Regions from separate parts of the Homo sapiens genome. Here region 2 is linked to region 1. Evidence: promoter capture Hi-C in 16 types of primary human blood cells and fetal thymus (Javierre and others, 2016). All regions are on one chromosome and are shown on one strand. The core of a region is centred on a gene start or on the middle of the fragment in contact, and the rest is flanking DNA. Distances in the headings are between cores, read along the strand shown.

Region 1 (5,249 bases), core at 316-2,815:
TTTTGTATTTTTAGTAGAGACGGGGTTTCTCCATGTTGGCCAGGCTGGTCTCGAACTCCTGACTGCAGGTGATCCACCCGCCTTGGCCTCCCAAAGTGCTGGGATTACCAGCGTGAGCCACCGCACCCAGCCTCAACAAACACTTATTGAATCCCTAGTACTTTGGTGAAATTCAACTTTTACATCCAGGGACATGCTCTTGGGACATAATCTTGAAGAAGGTGTGGTCTCAAACCTCTAGGAACTTCAAATCTATTAATGAGCCAGATGAGAATACCGTTAATTACAGTATGATAGATAAGTACTTAAACAGAAGTATTGTACAAGGTGTAGAGGGGATTCAGAGGTCTGACACTGGCAGGAAGTCAGAAAATGTTTCTTCACAGAGGAAGTAATACTTTAGCTGAATGAGCAGGAGCTCACTAGGCAGATGTAATAGCAAGGTAAAGATACATGCTATGAGGTAAGTAGACATGAGCAGGAGCAGCACACATTTTTTTAAGAGTCTGTAGGTAGTTGAATTAACAGCTTGTTCCTTGGGTGCTGTGATAAGTTTGGACTTTATTGTTTCTCAGACTGGTCTCCTACTGGAACCAACTGAAATGTTTATTAAAAATACAGATTCCTGGGTTCCCTCCCACCCTACTGAAATCAGAATCAGTCCCTGGACTGGATGACAAAAAGCACCCCAAGGGATTTTTATGCATAGTAAAGTTTGTGAACCATAGCTGTAGGCAAGAGTTATGTGTTCAGGTATGTATAATGGAAAAATTCTGTCTCAAATGAGGCAAAGTGGCCTACTAGTAAGCTGCTGCAATTGCTTTATTGATGAAGGCCTGGACCAGAACAACAATGCTAATAAACAAGAGAGGATGGATATTTAGAATTATGAATTCAAACCATCTGACATAAGAAGTGAGAGATCAGGTGTCCTCAAGGTTGGCTCCCACGCATAGTCGGCTGCTGGTGGCATTCATCAACACAAATGTAAGCTGAACAGGTTTGAGGAAGACGGAAGAATGTCCGGGCTATTTCGGACATACTTTTGATAAACCACGCACGTGGAAATGCCAAGCAGGCAGTGGGATACGTGGGTCTGAAGCTAAAAAAGGAAGTCTGTACTAGCTATATTATAGATCCAAGAGTCACCAGTAATTGCTCAAGCCCGTGATATGGAGGAAACTACCCAGCTGAGTAAAAGATGCTGCAGAGGGGAGACTGACATGGTACTCCAAAGCAGCAGGACGAAGACCGAACCATATAACTGCCACGTGTGAAAGCTAATTCACCCTTTCAGAGAGACTGGGGCTAGTGAGCCCTGATGGGGATTGCAAAGGGAGCAGTTAGCACGCGAAGGGAGGTAGGTGATACCTAATCACTCGCTGGATGACATTCCGGTAGCGCAGCCTATCAGCTTGAATGTGAGGATTGCACAGAGCCTTCTTCAGCTCCTTCACCACGTCCTCGGAGCCAAGGTACGGCATCTTCCTAAGAGTCACAGGGCAGCTCCCACAGCTCCCACGGTAACTCGAGGGCTCCTTCTCGTCCTGATGTGGGAGCCTGAGTAAAGGAAATATGAGTCAGTGAAAATACAAAAGGCGAGATCTCGCCTCAGGCTCGGCTTCCGTAGGGCCGGCACGCTGGCCCTGACACACTTCCACGCCCTCCGCGACACCGCGAGCCCCACCCTAGGCTCTTCAGGCCCTACCGTCGGCCGGCAGGCCGTTCGCCCCGCCCACAGATCGCTCCCGCTACTTCTAGGTCCTCCGCCGGATTTCCAGCGCCGCGTCCGACTGACCGCAGACCCCTCCCTCTCCAGTTCCAGCCTTAATTCCCCCTCCACGCCGTTCTCATCGCGGATAGGCCCAATCTTGCTTTCTGCGGAAGTCCCGCCCCCTTGTCAAGAGACCAAACAGAAGACCGCTGCCGGTCTCCCCGCGAGCGAGCGCTAAGCGTAGTCCCGACTCCGACCTTAGGATGCCCTTCCCCCAACCTCTCACTCTCCAGGCGCAGCTGCGCGGCTCCCTCTGGTGGAGCTGCGGCGGGCAATCGGAAATCGGCTACTTTGGCCTGTCTCCTCCCTGCAGCGCGCGCTTTGAGTGCCCGGCTCGGCCTCCGCTCCCGCGCGGTTGGGAGTGTCCAGCGCCCTCCGCGATTTGGGCTCCAGCGGGCAGGGTGACTTCCTTTTTCTGCCCACTCTGGTAACTTATTGCTCTGCTGGGCTCTTTCCCTTAGGGTCTCTGGCCCTGTTCTTGCCCCAGCATGACTTTTATCGGGACGCCGTTGTGGAAGCCTCACGCAGGAGCCCTGCCCCCGTGGAGAAGATCCCACTGGTGACTCCAACCCTACCACCATGAATGGGGTCCTGATCCCCCATACGCCCATCGCAGTGGACTTCTGGAGCCTGCGCCGGGCTGGCACCGCACGTCTCTTCTTCTTGTCTCACATGCACTCGGACCACACCGTGGGCCTGTCTAGCACCTGGGCCCGGCCCCTCTACTGCTCCCCAATTACAGCCCACCTCTTGCATCGTCACCTACAGGTATGGGGCTGGAGTCGGTCTCCGAGAGCTGGTCCAGGCATCTGGGTTGGGACTTCAACCTGTCATTCTTGGAGTCATAGAATGGGGGCCACGAAAACTGATTTGGAAGTTGTTTGAACCCAAAAATGCATCTTTAACCCAGAATAGGAACGTGTTTTCGAAGTGACCAACTTGAGATAGTTAGCCATAAGTTGAGGAGATATTTTAATCCAGCCAAGGAAACTATTCCTACCTTTATAAGTAAGCTAGGCCGATGTTTCCCAAACTTGCCTTTTTTTTTTTTTTTTTTTTTTTTTTTTGAGACGGAGTCTCGCTCTGTTGCCCAGGCTGGAGTGCAGTGGCGCAATCTCGGCTCACTGCAGCCTCCGCCTCCCGGGTTCAAGCGATTCTCCTGTCTCGGCCTCCTGAGTAGCTGAGATTACAGGCGCACGCCACCACGCCCAGCTAATTTTTTGTATTTTTTGTGGAGACGGGGTTTCACCATGTTGGCCAGGCTGTTCTCTAACTCCTGACCTTAAGTGATCCGCCCGCCTCAGCCTCCCCAAGTGCTGGGATTACAAGCGTGAGCCACCACGCCCCGCCTAAACTTGCCTCATCTTAAGAATCCACCTAATGTGCTGGGTGGTTCTCCAGCTCTCTCCCCACCCCACCCTTAAGTCTCCAAGAGATTAAGATCAGGAGTAAGTTTGGGAATTGCTGACTAGACTGTTTGCTGAACTCTTTTTTTTTTTTTGAGATGGAGTCTCGCTCTGTCGCCCAGGCTGGAGTGCAGTGGCGCAAACTCGGCTCACTGCAAGCTCCGCCTCCCGGGTTCACGCCATTCTCCTGCCTCAGCCTCCCGAGTAGCTGGGACTACAGGCGCCCGCCACCACGCCTGGCTAATTTTTTTTGTATTTTTTAGTAGAGACGGGGTTTCACCGTGTTAGCCAGGATGGTCTCGATCTCCTGACCTCGTGATCCACCCGCCTCAGCCTCCCAAAGTGCTGGGATTACAGGCGTGAGCCACCACGCCCGGCCAGCTGAACTCTTAAATTGTACAAAGGGTGGGATGGGAAGTGGAAGGAGGAAGGGCAGATTGCTTGGGAATCCCCATTACAGCTTCTGCTCCCGGTGGCTCAGGATTTGGTCAGCTTTCCTGATTCATGTAAGGGATAGTCCCTGACCCGGGGAGGTAACGGAGAGGAGTCAGTGGTCACTGGGATGACTAACTGTTTTCTCAGGTATCTAAGCAATGGATCCAAGCCCTGGAGGTTGGTGAGAGCCATGTATTACCCCTAGATGAAATTGGACAAGAGACCATGACCGTAACCCTCCTCGATGCCAATCACTGTCCTGGTTCTGTCATGTTTCTCTTTGAAGGATATTTTGGAACCATCCTCTACACAGGTGGGCCTCTCAAGGAATCCCAGTGACTTCTCCAGACTAGATGTTTTTTTTTTTTTTTTTTTTTTTTTTTTTTAATGTATAGACTGGGGCCTCGCAGTGTTGCCGAGGCTGGTCTCAAACTCCTGACCTCAAGCAATCCTCCCGCTTCAGCCTCCACAGTAGCTAGGATTATTGGCACAAGCCACCACACCTGGCAGACTTTTCTTGAGCAGCCTTAACTCAATAGAAGTCTGGAGGCGCTGGAGGCCTTCTAACTTCATCACATATGAGCATAGTGACCCCATCTCAACTGATTTCCCACTGTTTTTTTTTCCTTCTTCTTTTTGAGACGGAGTTTCACTCTTGTCACCCAGGCTGGAGTGCAGTGGCGTGATTGTGGCTCACTGCAACCTCCGCCTTCTGGGTTCAAGTGATTCTCTTGCCTCAGCCTCCCAAGTAGCTGGGATGACAGGCGCCTGCCACCACGCCCAGCTAATTTTCGTATTTACTATTAGTAGAGACGGGGTTTCACCATGTTGGCCAGGCTGGTCTCGAACTCCTGACCTCAGGTGATCCACCTGGCTCGGCCCCCCAAAGTGCTGGGATTACAGGTGTGAGCCACTGCGCCTGGCCGATTTCCCACTCTTTAAGGGTCCGAACCTTGTGAAGAGTAATTGAAAAATAGGAGTAGGATGGAGACATTACAACAAAGAAACCATGCAGCTATACTGCCTAGTTCAGTGCCAGGCTACATAATAGTTTTTTCACAGACTAGTAAGCAAACGCCTGTCTATTGTTGGAGGTAGGAGAGGCTTGTCTTCTATTCTTTTGTCTCTGACCTTCTGCCCCCATGTACATATTCCTCCAGGTGATTTTCGATACACACCATCCATGCTAAAGGAGCCAGCCCTGACACTGGGGAAACAGATCCATACTTTATACCTAGACAACACCAATTGCAATCCAGCCCTGGTTCTTCCTTCCCGACAAGAAGCTGCCCACCAGATTGTCCAGCTCATTCGAAAACACCCACAACATAACATAAAGATTGGTGAGTTGTTTCCTTTCAGTTTCCTGTCACCTGTAGATAGTGAACTAGATTCTTTAAGGATTCTCACATCTTTCAGATCTTTGTGCAGTTCTCACTTTCTCCTACACTGACCACCTTATTTAAAATTGCAACCTGGCTAGGTGTGGTGGTTCATGCCTATAATCCCAGCACTTTGGGAGGCCAAGATGGGAGGGTCATTTGAGCCCAGGCGTTTGAGACCAGCTTGGGCAACATGGCAAGACCCTGTCTCTACAAAAAATTTAAAAATCAGTTGGGCACGATGGTGCGTGC
Region 2 (5,195 bases), core at 1,847-4,346, 790 kb before region 1:
TAAGTGCTGTGGCCCTAGGAGATGTGCTACTTTCACTGCTGTTTATGCTTTTGAAGACATTCTTATGAAATTCTCAGTTTTCATTCCAGAACCATAAATCTCTCTTGATAACTATGAAATTTATTCCTGATGGGCCTTCTAATAACTGGGAATATTTAGGACATTTTTGGGTCTAATGGTCATTATCATTGTCTAAATGTAGTTACACAGGATCATTTGTGTGTGTGTGTGTGTGTGTATTTTTATTTATTTATTTTAATTTCTCTTGTTTTTTGTTTTGAGATGGAGTCTCGCTCTGTCGCCCAGGATGGAATGCAGTGGCATGATCTCGGCTCACTGCAAATTCCGCCTCCCAGGTTCAAGTGATTCTCCTGTCTCCTGTAATTCGAGTAGCTGGAATTACAGATGTGCGCCACCAGGCCCATCTAATTTTTGTATTTTTAGTAGAGACAAAGTTTCACCATTTTGGCCAGGTTGGTCTCAGACTCCTGAGCGCAAGTGATCCGCCTGCCTTGGCCTCCCAAAGTATTCGGATTACAGGCATGAACCACTGCACCCAGCCTTATTTCAGTACCTTTTGGGGTACAAGTGAGTTTTTTTCCCATGGATGAATTATAGTGGTGCATTCTGAGAATTTAGTGCACCCATCACTGAGTAGCGTACATAGTATCTAATGTGTAGTTTTTTATCCCTAGCCCCCGCTCACCCTCTCCATTCTGAATCTCTAACGTCCATGATACCACTCTGTATGCCTTTGTGTACTCATACTTAGCTCCCACTTATAAGTGAGAACATATGGTGTTTGGTTTTTCACTCCACACAGGATCATTTTAAAAATGAATACTCTTCTTTCCTGCAAAAGCTTCTTAAAAACAGCTTGATTTATCTATTGCCTATTAAATTGAATAACTACAACATTTTAGGGTTTGTACAACCAAAAGATGTACTTATGTTTTGCTTCTGTGTTTTTTAATGATACTTTTGAAGGCATAAGTTTTTTTAGCATGCAGTTTCCTTGATAGCTTTGTAGATGTTGGTTTGGGAACATTTTTGAGATGGACTCTCACTCTGTCATGCAGGCTGGAGTGCAGTGGTGTGATCTCAGCTCACTGCAGCCTTCGCCTCCTAGTTTCAAGTGATTCTCCTGCCTCAGCCTCCCAGGGAAGCATCATTTAGCTTCATAAGTGAGAGAGTCATAGTAAATACCAGGTTCTAAAATACGAAGTTCAAAGAAGGTTTGTGGCCTTCTGCTTTCCCTAGTTCCAGCTGATGATTAAGTGTATCATGCATCCTAGAAGACACAGTCATCAGTGTGCTCCAAATACTCTGAGGTTCTGGAAGAAAAGATGTTCTCAAAACCATATTCACTCTTGGCTGGGTGCTGTGGCTCAGGCTTGTAGTCCCAGCACTTTGGGAGGCCAAGGTGGGAGGATAGCTTGAGGCCTGGAATTTGAAGCTGCAGTGAGCTATGATTGCGCCAGTGTACTCCCGCCTGGACAGCAGAGCAAGACCCTATCTCTAAAGTTTGTTTTTGTTTTTTTAAATTTATAAAACTATATTCACTCTCAATCAGAGAGCCTGTCTTCACAAAGAAATGGAACATTAGGGGGTGTCTTGCCTACTAGATTCTTTCATGCCTATTTGTATGCATATATGTGTCTTTGTTCCCTTGCCCACTTTTTCTTGGTGATTTTTCTGGAAACAGAGATGCCATCTTTTCTGAAAACGCCAATGGATCTGACTATTCGCACTGGTGCCATGGCCAGATTAGAATGTGCTGCAGAGGGACACCCTGCACCTCAGATTTCCTGGCAGAAAGATGGTGGTACTGACTTTCCTGCGGCTCGAGAAAGACGCATGCACGTCATGCCCGAGGATGACGTCTTCTTTATTGCCAATGTGAAAATAGAAGATATGGGAATCTATAGCTGCATGGCACAAAATACAGCAGGAGGTCTCTCAGCAAATGCTTCCCTAACAGTGTTAGGTACGTTTACTGCTCCATGGGTCCCTGCTTTTGTTGGAGTCTTTGGGAGCTACTCTTGGTCTTAATGAGCAAGAAAAATAAGTTTGAGATTACCTCTGTGATTCTTAGATCTTTATCTTATTTCACAATTTTATGCAAGGTTATGTCAGTCTAGGAATTAGTGGGTCAGATAACTGAAATGTGGGAAAATACATAGGGCAAAATTAGGTAGGCATCCTTGTCACAATAATTGAAAGTTCAAATTCCTTTATCAGCTTATCTTTTTAAGTCCCTCTCTGTAAGGTTTCTGTTTCATGTAGGTGTGTTTACTATTCACTGAGTTTGCATTGAGAGTTCCACTGTTCTTTTAGGAGTATCCCAGCCATTTGATGCTGCTTCACTTATTGCTTGATAGGAACCTAAGACTATTTAACTGTTTGCTCCTAGTTCATTTTCAAAAAAAATTTAATACAAAAAAAAAAAAAAAAGATGTGTTTTCTGGTTAGAGTTTCTGCTTTCCTTTTCAGTGTGTTCTTCTTAACCCTATTTCTGGTAAAATGCCTTTTTTCCTAAAAATTTTCCCCTGCTGGCCTGGGTTTTTTTTGTTGTTGTTGTTTGTTTGTTTTGTTTTTTCTTCCTTATTACAATACTTTTCTTCGTGGAACTCAAATCCAGGGTAAATTCTACTTTCCAGTTCTCTATTTTCCTATATGTCAGTTATTATTATTATTTTTTTTAAGTTTGTTGGTTTGTATTGTTTACTTGTATAACCAGAAAAATAAGAAGTCATTTATTTATTTATTTATTTATTTATTTATTTATTTATTTATTTATTTATTTTGAGACGGAGTCTCATTCTGTTGCCCAGGCTGGAATGCAGTGGCGCAATCTCGGCTCAGAGCAACCTCCACTTCCCGGGTTCAAGTGATTCTCCTGCCTCAGCCTCCTGAGTAGCTGGTACTACAGGCATGTACCACTGCGCCCAGCTAATTTTTGTATTTTTTTTAGAGACGGGGTTTCACCATGTTGGTCAGGCTGGTCTCGAACTCCTGACCTCATGATCCGCCTGCCTCAGCCTTAGAAAAATAAGTCATTTATTGTTTTAACATGTTAAGATATACAGAAAATTAGGAAAAGGGGAGGAAAGTCACTCAAATACTTAAGGATTTTAGCATATTCTAGACTTTCCCCTCTCACTTTTATGTAGTCAAATATACCTACATTTTTTTCATTTAATATTGTACCACAAGTTGCCTTGTTATTAAAGTCTTTGTAAAAGATCATGTGACTATAATTTACTTAATCATTTTTCTGCTAGATTTAAAAATGTTTTTCTTTATTCTTTAAAGTTACACATTTTGTAGTAAACATCTTTGCGTATAAATCTTTGAATTTCTTTTTTTTTAAGTTATTTTTAATCTTTTTTAATGGGTCACCGCTGCTCACCCCCTCCAGCTATTGCAGCTGCCCTGAACTTCTTTCTTAGGATAGCTTGCCTAAGCTGGAATTATCGAGAAAAGATTGAGGCTTTTTTCAGGATTTTGTTCTGAAACATTAACTTCTAATCCTCCCATGAGTATATAAAATTACTCATTTTATTATACCCCCATTGGTCTAATTCAGTAGAAATTAGGGAATAAAATTGCCTAACTTTTCATTTTTTTTTTTTTTAATGTTTTCCTGTTAGAGACACCCTCATTTATTAGACCCCTGGAGGATAAGACAGTAACACGAGGTGAAACTGCGGTGTTACAGTGCATAGCTGGAGGGAGTCCTGCCCCTCGTCTCAACTGGACTAAAGATGATGGGCCTTTGCTGGTGACAGAACGACATTTCTTTGCTGCAGCCAATCAGCTTCTCATCATTGTAGATGCCGGGCTAGAAGATGCTGGGAAATATACCTGCATTATGTCTAACACCCTTGGGACAGAACGTGGCCACATTTACCTAAATGTCATTTCATCCCCCAATTGTGACTCTTCCCAGAGTAGCATTGGGCATGAAGATGATGGCTGGACCACAGTTGGCATTGTCATCATTGTTGTGGTCTGCTGTGTTGTTGGCACTTCTTTGATCTGGGTCATTGTTATTTACCACATGAGAAGGAAAAATGAAGACTATAGTATCACAAACACAGGTAAGTAGTACCCACATGACACCTATGGCTTGTACTTCAGTCAAGAATGTAGTATAGGATTAATTGTACAATATAAAAAACTGAGAGCTGGTCATAGTAGCACATGCCTGTACTCCCAGCTACTCAGGAGGATGAGGTGGGAGGACTGCTTGAGCCCAGGAGTTCAAGGCCCACCTGGGCAACATAGCAAGACCTCATCTTCCCCCTCAAAAAACTGAAGAGCTGTGATACATTACCTGATATGTGATAGAAGGGAGTTTTTGTTGTTAAAATGTTCAACTTCTTTGATATAACAGAACCTCTTTGAGGAATAGGTTCATAACAGAACCTCTTTGAGGAAAGAATTTTGTTTATTTGAGATAGGGTGTTACTGTAATGCCCAGGTCAGAGTGTATCGGTACATTCATGGCTCACTGCAGCGTTGACTTCCCAGGCTCAGGTGATTCTCCCATCTCGGCCTTCTGAGAAGCGGGGACTATAGGCATGTGCCACCGCGCCTAAGTTTTTATATTTTTAGTAGAGTCGGGTTTTGCCATGTTGCCCAAGCTGGTCTCAAACTCCTGGGCTCTAGCAATTTGTCCACCTTGGCCTCTCAAAGTGCTGGGATTACAGGCATGAGCCACTGCGTCTGACCAATTTTAAGAATTTGTAAATTTTTTTTTTTTTTTTTGAGATAGAGTCTCGCTCTGTTGCCAGGCTGGAGTGCAGCGGCATGATCTTGGCTCAATGCAACTTCCACTTCCCGGGTTCAAGCGATTCTCCTGACTCAGCCTCCCGAGTAGCTGGGACTACAGGCGTGTGCCACCATGCCCAGCTAATTTTTGTATTTTTAGTTGAGACGGGGTTTCACCATGTTGAACAGGATGGTCTCAATCTTTTGACCTCGTGATCCACCCACCTTGGCCTCCCAGAGGGCTGGGATTACAAGCGTGAGCCACCACGCCCGGCCAAACTTTACTTCTAAAAACGCATTACAGATGCATTCTTTTTAATGTCTAAGGCTCCTTTTCATCATAATTTTGCTGTAAGGAAGAGTGGAGCCCTTGTGATTGAGATCAGTCTCTTTTTTTCCCTTGAATATCAAACTGGATC

What was found. Contacts are between HindIII fragments. The CHiCAGO score rates a contact against its expected background, and 5 or more counts as called.
Region 2: a contact is called between a fragment that was not itself captured here and the fragment with the promoter of AP4B1 in region 1, in 1 of 17 cell types (M2 macrophages). The highest score is 5.6, in M2 macrophages.

What each region holds. Positions count from the first base shown.
Region 1 is chr1:113,903,234-113,908,482 of GRCh38, forward strand. It overlaps AP4B1 (adaptor related protein complex 4 subunit beta 1), which reads right to left and starts at 1,566. Exons shown (of 10, transcript NM_001253852.3): 1 at 1,372-1,566. The coding sequence starts at 1,484. DCLRE1B (DNA cross-link repair 1B) reads left to right here and starts at 2,093. Exons shown (of 4, transcript NM_022836.4): 1 at 2,093-2,542; 2 at 3,763-3,928; 3 at 4,776-4,958. The coding sequence starts at 2,354. RefSeq lists enhancers at 1,202-1,261, 1,342-1,901, 1,932-1,981. The HindIII fragment of the contact is 8,249 bases long and covers 1-5,249 here.
Region 2 is chr1:113,110,774-113,115,968 of GRCh38, forward strand. It overlaps LRIG2 (leucine rich repeats and immunoglobulin like domains 2), which reads left to right. Exons shown (of 18, transcript NM_014813.3): 14 at 1,706-1,987; 15 at 3,654-4,103. Among named protein-coding and RNA genes, the nearest start is that of LRIG2, 40 kb to the left of the region's middle. The HindIII fragment of the contact is 4,473 bases long and covers 861-5,195 here.